Regions from separate parts of the Homo sapiens genome. Here region 2 is linked to region 1. The links are contacts of gene promoters, found by promoter capture Hi-C in blood cells and fetal thymus (Javierre and others, 2016). All regions are on one chromosome and are shown on one strand. The core of a region is centred on a gene start or on the middle of the fragment in contact, and the rest is flanking DNA. Distances in the headings are between cores, read along the strand shown. Region 1 holds the start of TMEM203 (transmembrane protein 203). Region 2 has its middle 14 kb from the start of FBXW5.

Region 1 (4,684 bases), core at 1,064-3,563:
TCTGCTTTTGTTTTTTTTTTTGTTTGTTTGTTTTTTTCTGAGACAGAGTCTCGCTCTGTTGGCCAGGCTGGAGTGCAGTGGCGTTGTCTCGGCTCACTGCAAGCTCCGCCTCCCGGGTTCACGCCATTCTCCTGCCTCAGCCTCCCAAGTAGCTGGGACTATAGGCACCCGCCACCACGCCCGGCTAATTTTTGTATTTTTAGTAGAGACAGGGTTTCACCGTGTTAGCCAGGATAGTTTCGATCTCCTGATCTTGTGATCCACCCACCTCGGCCTCCCAAAGTGCTGGGATTACAGGCGTGAGCCACCACGCCTGGCCTGCTTTTGCTTTTAATCATTTAGGGGTGTAAAAACCATCCTCAGCTCAAGGGTCATACAAAAACAGGCCTTAGGACATTGTTTGCTGATCCCTGCTCTACAGAGTGCCAACAAGGCCCACAAAGACCACACTCTGGCAAGAAGTCATGGGCTCTGGGGTCACAAACTATTCAATGGGTCTTTAACATGAGCCCAGATTGTTGTCTTCATACAGGGTGGGGGGGGGGGTGCCTGAGTTACCCACCTCCTAGAGCAGGAAGGAGGGATTCTCCAGAACAAGTGATTCCCACCACCACCATCCACTAAGCTCTAGCCACAGGTTTCAATCCATTTAAAACCGCAGCTCTGTAACCAGCTACACCACGTAGCAGAGAGTATCTCAATATTCATCCTATTTAACCCTTGAGGGTTACAGGCAACCACTATTCATTTCAGGAAAACATTCTCTTACTTTATTTGCATCTCAGCAAAGGTTCTCATGTGGCACCTGACTGGCATCAAACCAAAGTTCGTAGGCCAACAAAGATGGGCCACTCACAAGCTTCCCATTTGTAGATCTCAGTGCCTATGAGTATCTGACACCTGTTCCTCTCTTCAGTCTCTTAGGGAGGCTTAAATCTGTCTCAGGTGTGCTAAGAGTGCCAGCCCAAGGTGGTCAAAAGTCCACAAAACTGCAGTCTTTGCTGGGATAGTAAGCCAAGCAGTGCCTGGACAGCAGAGTTCTTTTCTTGGGCAACAGATAACCAGACAGGACTCTAATCGTGCTCTTATTCAACATTCTTCTGTCTCTGCCTAGACTGGAATAAAAAGCCAATCTCTCTCGTGGCACAGGGAAGGAGATACAAGCTCGTTTACATGTGATAGATCTAACAAAGGCATCTACCGAAGTCTGGTCTGGATAGACGGCACAGGGAGCTCTTAGGTCAGCGCTGCTGGTTGGAGGACATTCCTGAGTCCAGCTTTGCAGCCTTTGTGCAACAGTACTTTCCCAGGATCCACAGGAAATACTCAGAGTCCACCTGGACATTTTACTTATATTCAGTTTCCAAGTGTCAGAGGGGTTCAGGACTGTCTGGCCTGGGGGGCCTCCTCATGACCTCAATTCAGGATTATCTACTCAAAGCATTAAACAAAAGGAAATACATTTTCAGGATGAAGGCTGCTCTTTTAAGCCCTGCTGAAGAAACCATTTCAAACAGGATTGGAATAGGGAAACCCGGCACTCAGCTCGGCGCAAGCCGGCGGTGCCTTCAGACTAGAGAGCCTCTCCTCCGGTGCGCTGCAAGTAGGGCCTCGGCTCGAGGTCAACATTCTAGTTGTCCAGCGCTCCCTCTCCGGCACCTCGGTGAGGCTAGTTGACCCGACAGGCGCGGATCATGAGCAGCTGCAGGAGAATGAAGAGCGGGGACGTAATGAGGCCGAACCAGAGCTCCCGAGTCTGCTCCGCCAGCTTCTGGCACAACAGCATCTCGAAGACGAACTTGAGACTCAGGACCGTAAGTACCCAGAAAAGGCGGAGCACCGCCAGCCGCTTCTCTCCATCCTGGAAGAGGCGCACGGACACGATGGTGGTGAAGTAGGTGCTGAGCCCGTCAGCGGCGAAGAAAGGCACGAACACGTTCCACCAGGAGAGGCCCGGGACCAGGCCATCCACACGCAGTGCCAGCAGCACAGAGAACACCAACAGGGCCAGCAGGTGCACGAAGATCTCGAAGGTGGCGAAGCCTAGCCACTGCACCAGCTCCCGGAGCGAGAAGAGCATCGCGCCCGTTGAGCGCGGGCCGGGGCCCGGCCGAGCGTGCCACCCGCGGGGCTGCGTCTCCTCTCCCCGTGGCCCTCGCCCGCGCCTGCCGCCGCTGCTGCGAGCGAGAGGCAGCGAGCGGCCCCGCCAGCCCCAGCCCTCGGCCCTGATGCGCCGGCAATCCCCCGGCCCCGACCCGGGACTCAACCCTGGCCGCCCGTGAACGCCCGCCTCGATCGGACGCCATGCCCCCACAGGGCGCGTCCCTAGTGCGTCACTTCCGGTCGACGGCGGAAGGCGGAAGGCGGAGCGGTCCCTGCAACCCGGCCGGCGGGAACTGCCTTCTAGTTTTTAGTCTCAGACCAGACCACCGGGCGCACCCCGATGCCGAGCCCGCAGCTTCTGGTGCTCTTCGGCAGCCAGACAGGCACGGCTCAGGATGTGTCGGAGAGACTGGGTCGCGAGGCCCGGCGCCGGCGGCTTGGCTGCCGGGTGCAGGCCCTGGACTCCTACCCGGTGGTGAGGGCTCGCTAGGGCCTCGGCGTGGGGGACGAGCAGGCCTGGCGTGCCCGCCTCGCGGGGTCATCGACCCAAAAGGCGTCGCATTTTCTCTGAGAGCGGGTCTTTCCCTTATGGCGGATTTAGGGAAGGAGGTTTGGGAAGGGGAGTTCAGTTTAGCACCTGGAGGAGGTTGGAACCTGAAAGAGAAGACGGTCTGGCTGCTCACATAAATCCCTCTGCCCTGTCAGCCTGAGTAAAGGAGAAGGGGGTCAAGTTTTGGGAAGGACGCCCGGTCCTTACAGCCGGAGGTCTTACGTGTGTGTGTCTTTTTGTTGAGGTGAATCTGATTAACGAGCCCCTGGTGATATTTGTTTGTGCAACTACAGGCCAAGGAGACCCCCCTGACAACATGAAGGTAAGGCTGGCCTGATGTGGCTCCTCAGATCCCTGCCCTCGACCCTCACCCCGTTTTCATTGCCTGGCGTCTAGGTGCAGTAAATAGCTCTCCTTTATCTCATGCACCTTCAGAGGTGGATTTGAGAGAACGTCCGTGAGTGGGGCTGGGGGCTCCGGTTGCCCTCTCTAATAAACTCGTCGTAGCCACCAAATAGCCTTATTATCCGTTTTAACCTTTCTTATTTTTCCAGGGCTATCTATATGTGCATCTAGTCTGGGTCTTGTGTGTATTTCTAGACTGTATGACCCTCAGGGAACGTTGCTGAATTCTCTGACCATCTTTTAAGCACATATTCTATTCTTGGCACAGTCTGGTGCTGGGGATCCAGCTGTGAACCCAGCAGCCATATTTCCATCCTGGCAGAGTTCACACTGTAGCAGAAGCAGCTAACGGGCAATGACAGTGCCAGCAAACACCTGCTGCTGGGGAAAGTAGCATATGTCACAGGAGCACTGATAAGGGGCATCGAGCCTTATCTCACCCAACCTTGGGGCCCAGGCAGAGGTTTCTGGAAGAAAAGAGTGTAAGCTGAGTCACGGAAGGATGCGTGAGGGCTAGTCAGGCACCGAGGAAGAAGGAGCAGTCAGCGCAGAGGAAAAAGATGATTTGGTTTGTGTGAAAAGTGGAAAGCAGCTCAGGGTGGCCAAGCTGAGGAGTACACTGGGGCAAGAGGGGAGGAGAAGAGAGGCAGGAAGCCAGGCCCAGTCCAAAGAGCCTGAGTAACCACAGCAAGGCAGATGGGCTTGAAATGAAGGGTTGTCGGAACTGTAGGGGTGACACAGTCATGTTCCTAAGCTAGCAAAACCGCACTGGTCTGCAGGACAGCAGGAATAATGCCATGAGATGCACAGGACAGGCAGCAGATGCTACCGATCTGAGCTGAAGTGGTGGCAGAAGATAGAAGTGGACACATTGCAGTGGTGTCAGGAAGAGAGAGTCCCCGGGACATGGAACGGACCCAATAGGTCAAGCAGAATCGAGACAGGGATGTGGGCTCTGGAACCAAGATGGATGGTGGTTCCATCCACAGAAATCAGAGAACACGGTGGGAGTAGGGGGCTGTGCAGGAAGGGAACCTGGAGACATTGAAGTGGAGAAGTGCAGTAGGACTAGCGCTCCAAGGAAGATCCTGGGGCGGAGATAGGTGTTGAGGTAGCCACAATACAGAAGTGTGAGAAGAGGAAGCTCCTCTCTCCCCACAGGACAGGCTGCCCAGAACGTTAGAGCCCAGGAGGGCAGGAGAGTGACCAAGCAGCTAGAAGAGAGGGTGCAGCACCCCAAGGAGAGGACTGGGGGAGTGAGTGTTCCAGGAAGGGCTCTGGCATGTAAAGCTGCACAGAAGTCAAATCAGATAAAGCCTGAGAGGGATCCATGGGATTTCTTGGCAAAGGGATTGTTGGTGATACCAGGAAGAGCAGCTTCAGTGGCTCATGGGGAGAGAAGCCAGATTACAGGAGATCAGCAACTGAGAGAGTGAGTGGAGAGCATCTTTTAAGAATGTCTTGAGTGCGGGCCGGCTGCGGTGGCTCACGCCTGTAATCTCAGCACTTTGGGAGGCCGAGGCGGGCGAATCACGAGGTCAGGAGTTCGAGACCAGCCTGGCCAACATGGTGAAACCCGTCTCTACTAAAATTACAACAATTAGCTGGGCACGGCGCAGTGGTGCG
Region 2 (4,684 bases), core at 814-3,313, 280 kb before region 1:
CGACCGACTCAGAACATCCTGACCTTCCCTGAGGCTGGAAACCACTGTCATGTTTTCGTCTAATGATTGTGAAGTTTTGTCTTTAACATACTGGGCTTCTATATTTGGGGATTTGTTTGTATGTGACAGGTTTTGCTGGGTCACTGCAGTTTGTTAAAACAGATTGATTGAGGTCATCTCTTCTCACTTAAAACGAAATGGAACTGTGAAATGAGAGGAATGGACCAAAAAAAAATCCTCCCCCAGGGACAAAGATGGGGAAGAAGCCAACATCCCACAAAGGATTTGAACCCATTTTGGAAGGTGGGAAGTGGGTTGGTGGGTGGCTGCTGAGCAGAAGAGGGCTGAGGGGGAAGCTGGCCACACCGGGAGGCCCTGGCATGGAGCAGAGTCTAAAAGTGGATCAACTGAAAGACGGGGCAGAGCAGCTACCTTGGAGGTCCTTTGCCAGAGCAGCCGGATGGTCCTCCTGGCCCTCACCTCCCTGCAGTGGAGATGGAGGTCTGGAGAACCTGGGGAAGAGCTGAGGACCGCACCCCCCACGCAGTGAGAGCAGCATCGGGCTCCAGGCTGCAGAAGGGGCAGAGGTCTGCACTCGGAACAATTCCCTAGGCACTGGCTGCCACACCAAGAGGCTCCCACGAAGCAGACCAAGGCCCTTGAGGGACAAAATGCTCTGGAGCAGCCCCGTGGGCAGGCCTGGCCCAGCCGCCTCATGGCCTTCTGGGGAAGTGACAGGCTCTGTGCAAACCCACAGAGGTACCATCGTCACTACCTAATTTTGGGACATTTCATCACCCTGCAGAGAAACCTTCCCTTAGCAGTCACTGTTCCCTCCCGCTCAGCCCCTGACAGCCAGCCATAAACCTACCTTCTGTCTCTATAGATTTGCCTACTCAGGACATTCATGTGAATGTGGCCTTTGCTTTTACTCAGCAAGATATTTTCATGGTTCCTGTGTGTTGCAGCATGCATTGGAGTTTCATTCCTTCTAATGGCTGAATAATCTCTTGTATGGATGCACCACACCTTATTTATCCATTCATCCGTTGCTGGACATTTGGGTGGTTTCTACTTTTTGGCTACTCTGAAAATGCTGCTGTGAACATTTGTGAACAAGTTTTTATGGGGACGTGTATTTGTTTTCATTTCTCTTGAATATTTATACCGAGGAGTAGAGCTGCTGGGCCGCTTGTTCAGCTCTTGGAGGAATTGCCGAACTTTTGTGTCACCTTACATCTCCCTCAGGAAGTGTTTTTTTTTTTTTTTTTTTTTTTTGAGACGGAATCTCGTTCTGTCTTCCTGGCTGGAATACAATGGCACAATCTCGGCTCACTGCAGCCTCCGCCTCCCAGGTTCAAGCAATTCTCCTGCCTCAGCTTCCTGAGTAGCTGGGATTACAGCTGTGAGCCACCACGCCTGGCTAATTTTTGTATTTTTAGTAGAGACAGGGCTTTACCATGTTGGCCAGGCTGGTCTCGAACTGCTGACCTCAGGTGATCTGCCCACCTCAGCCTCCCAAAGTGCTGGGATTGCAGGTGTTGCACCTGGCCCCTAATAACATTTTTAAATTTCACGTAGTAAAATTGATTTGTTCTTTTGTTTTGTTCATGGAACATTCAATTCCATGGATGTTCACACCTGTGCAGATGTGGGTAAGCACCATACCTGGGAGACAGGCGAGCCCTGCCATCTCAGAAGACTGTTCCACTTTCCCCATAGTCACCACCCCGACCCGTGGCAGCCACACACCTGTCCTCCACCACTGTAGTTATGTCTTTCCAAGAAGGTCCCATAATGGAGTCCTACAATGCGTGGCTGGGAGCAGCGAGATCTGCAGAACGCCGCTGAGACTGATCAGGATGCGTGCATCAGCATTTGTTTTCTCTCTTTTTTTTTTGTTTTTTTTGGAGTAGTGCTCTATGGATGGATCAGTTTGTCTCGTCACCTGTTGAAGGGTGTTTGGGTTGTTTCTAATGTTTTGCAGGTCTGAATAGAGCTGCTATAAACATTTGTGTACAGGTTGTTGAGCAAGTTTTTATTTCATTAAGGTAGTTAGCAGTGGGGCTGCTGGATCACACAGTAAGTGTATTTTTAAATTCAAAAGAAACTGCCAAGCACTTTCCAGAATAGCTGTAGCCTGTTGTGGAATGCCAGCATGAGCCACAGTTCCCGCTGCTCCACATCCTTGTGGGCACTTTGTGTTGTCAGCATTCTTTTTTAATTTCTTTTTAAGATATAGGGTCTTGCTCTGTCACCCAGGCTGGAGCGCAATGGCGCAGTCCTACCTCACTGCAGCCTCAAACCCCTGAGCTCCAGTGATCCTCCCACCTAGGCCTCCCAAGTAGCTGCGACTACAGGTTCACACCATCGTGCTCAGCTTATTTTCTTTAATTTTTGTAGAGACAGAATATCACTATGTTGCCCAGGGTGGTCTCAGACTCCTGGTCTCACACTGTCCTGTCTTGGACTCCCAAAGTGCTGGGATTATAGGCATGTGTCACTGTACCTGGCCAAACTTTATTCTTGTTTCTCTTTTTCTTTTTTTCCTTTTTCCTCCCTCCCTCCTTCCTTTTTTCTTTTCGTTTTCTTTTCTCTTTTTTTTCGTTTGCCCTGCCCTGCCCTTTTTTTTTTTTTTTTTTTTTTTTTTTTTTTAAAGACAGTCACAGTCTCGTTCTGTTGCCTAGGCTGGAGTGCAGTGGTACAAATCCTACCTCACTGCACCCTCGAGACCTCAGGCTCAAGCAGGTCTTCCCACCTCAAGCATCCCAAGTAGCTGGGACCACAGGCACACCACCACACTCGGTTAATTTTTTAAATTTTTAGTAGAGATAGAGTTTTTTTTTTTTTTTTTTTTTTTTTTTTTTTTTTGAGACAGACTCTCGCTCTGTCACCAGACTGGAGTACAGTGACCCATCTTGGCTCACTGCAACCTCTGACTCCTTGGTTCAAGCGATTCTCCTGCCCCAGCCTTCCAAGTATTTGGGATTACAGGTGCATGCCACCACACCCAGGTAATTTTTTTGTATTTTTAGTAGAGTCGGGGTTTCACCATGTTGGCCAGTATGGTCTCGATCTTCTGACCTCAGATCTGCCTACCTCGACCTCCCAGAGTGCTGGGATTACAGGCATGAGCCACTGCACCCAGCCGGAGACAGGGTCTCTCTGTTGTCCAGGCTGGCCTGAAACTCCTGGGCTCAAGTGATCCGCCTGCCTCAGCTTCCCAAAGTGATGGGATTACAGGCATTAGCCACCACGCCCAGCCAGTTGTTGTTTTTCAGAATTGTTTTCCCTATTTTTGTTTGTTTGACAGTACATATATATTTCACAGTCAACTACAAAAAAATTCTGGGATTTTGATTGGAATTGCGTTAAGTCTACACATCAGTTTGGGGAGAATTGACATCTGTGTTGAGTCAGACAATCCATGAACATAGTCTATCTCTATTCTTTATCAGCGTTTTGTAGTATTTCATATGTATGTTGAACTGGCTGGAATGCAGTGGCATGATCGCAGCTCACTGTGGCTTTGACCTCCTGGGCTCAATGGATCTTCCCACCTCAGCCTCCTAAGTAGCTGGGACTACAAGTGTGTGCCACCACGCCCGGCTAATTTTTGTATTTTTTGTAGAGATAGGGTTTTGCCATGTTGCCTGGGCTGGTGTCCTGGACTCAAGTGATTCACCCACCTCTGCCTTCCAAAGTGCTGGGATTATGGGCATAAAAGTCACCACACCCAGCCAGTATACATATCTTGTACATGTTTTAGTAGGTTTATGCTTCAGTGTTTCTTTTACTTATTTATTGCTTCCTATCCCACAGCTTACTTTGTTTCTTGAGCTGTTGTAAGAGGTTGTTTTTTGAATTTTGGTTTCTGACTGTATATTTCCAGTGTTTAAAAACAAAACTGATTTTTATGTGTTGTTCTTATACCTCATAACCTTGATGAATTCACTTACTGGTTGTAGGAGATTAGGATTTTGTTTGTTTTTATAGATTTGGGGGGATTTTATGTGTGAACAATATGTCATCCATTAATAAGGACAGTTTTATTTCTTTTTATTCAATCTCTATGCCTTTTATTTCTTTTGCTTGCCTTGTTCCATTGGCTGACTTCCCGTTTATAAGGTTGAATAGTAATGGTAAGAGTCTATAGCCTTTCCTCATTCCCACTCTTGGGGAAAGCTTTCTTGCTTTCACAATTATGTATCATGTTACCCACGGGGATTTTTGGTGATGCTGTTTTATCAGGTTGAGCAAGTTCCCTTCTACTTCTAGTTTGCTTCTAGGGTTTTTTTTTTTTTTTTTTATCATGACTAGACATTTTATCAAGATGTTTTTCAATGGCTGGGTTTGGTGGCTCATGCCTATAATCCCAGCACTTTGGGAGGCCGAGGCAGGCGGATCACCTTAGGTCAGGAGTTTGAGACCAGCTTGGCCAACATGGTGAAAACCCATCTCTATTAAAAACAAAAATTAGCTGGGCATGGTGGTGCACTCCTGTAATCCCAGCTACTTGGGAGGCTGAGGCAGGAGAATTGCTTGAACTGGGAGACGGAGGTGACAGTGAGCTGAGATCGTGCCATTGCACTCTAACCTGGGCAACAAGGAAACTGTCTTCCAAAAAAAAAAAAAAAAAGATGCTTTTTCTATACCAAGTGATATGTTCATGTGGTTTTTCTCC

Evidence for each region. Contacts are between HindIII fragments. The CHiCAGO score rates a contact against its expected background, and 5 or more counts as called.
Region 2: a fragment that was not itself captured here is called in contact with the fragment with the promoter of TMEM203 in region 1 in 2 of 17 cell types (M2 macrophages and M1 macrophages); the score reaches 5.7 in M2 macrophages.

Annotation. Positions count from the first base shown.
Region 1 is chr9:137,203,335-137,208,018 of GRCh38, forward strand. TMEM203 (transmembrane protein 203) reads right to left here and starts at 2,314. Exons shown (of 1, transcript NM_053045.2): 1 at 748-2,314. The coding sequence starts at 2,080. The coding sequence ends at 1,670. It overlaps NDOR1 (NADPH dependent diflavin oxidoreductase 1), which reads left to right and starts at 2,366. Exons shown (of 14, transcript NM_014434.4): 1 at 2,366-2,578; 2 at 2,898-2,975. The coding sequence starts at 2,444. RefSeq lists a silencer at 2,070-2,329. The HindIII fragment of the contact is 6,239 bases long and covers 858-4,684 here.
Region 2 is chr9:136,928,086-136,932,769 of GRCh38, forward strand. No RefSeq gene overlaps it. Among named protein-coding and RNA genes, the nearest start is that of FBXW5, 14 kb to the right of the region's middle. The HindIII fragment of the contact is 4,239 bases long and covers 1-4,183 here.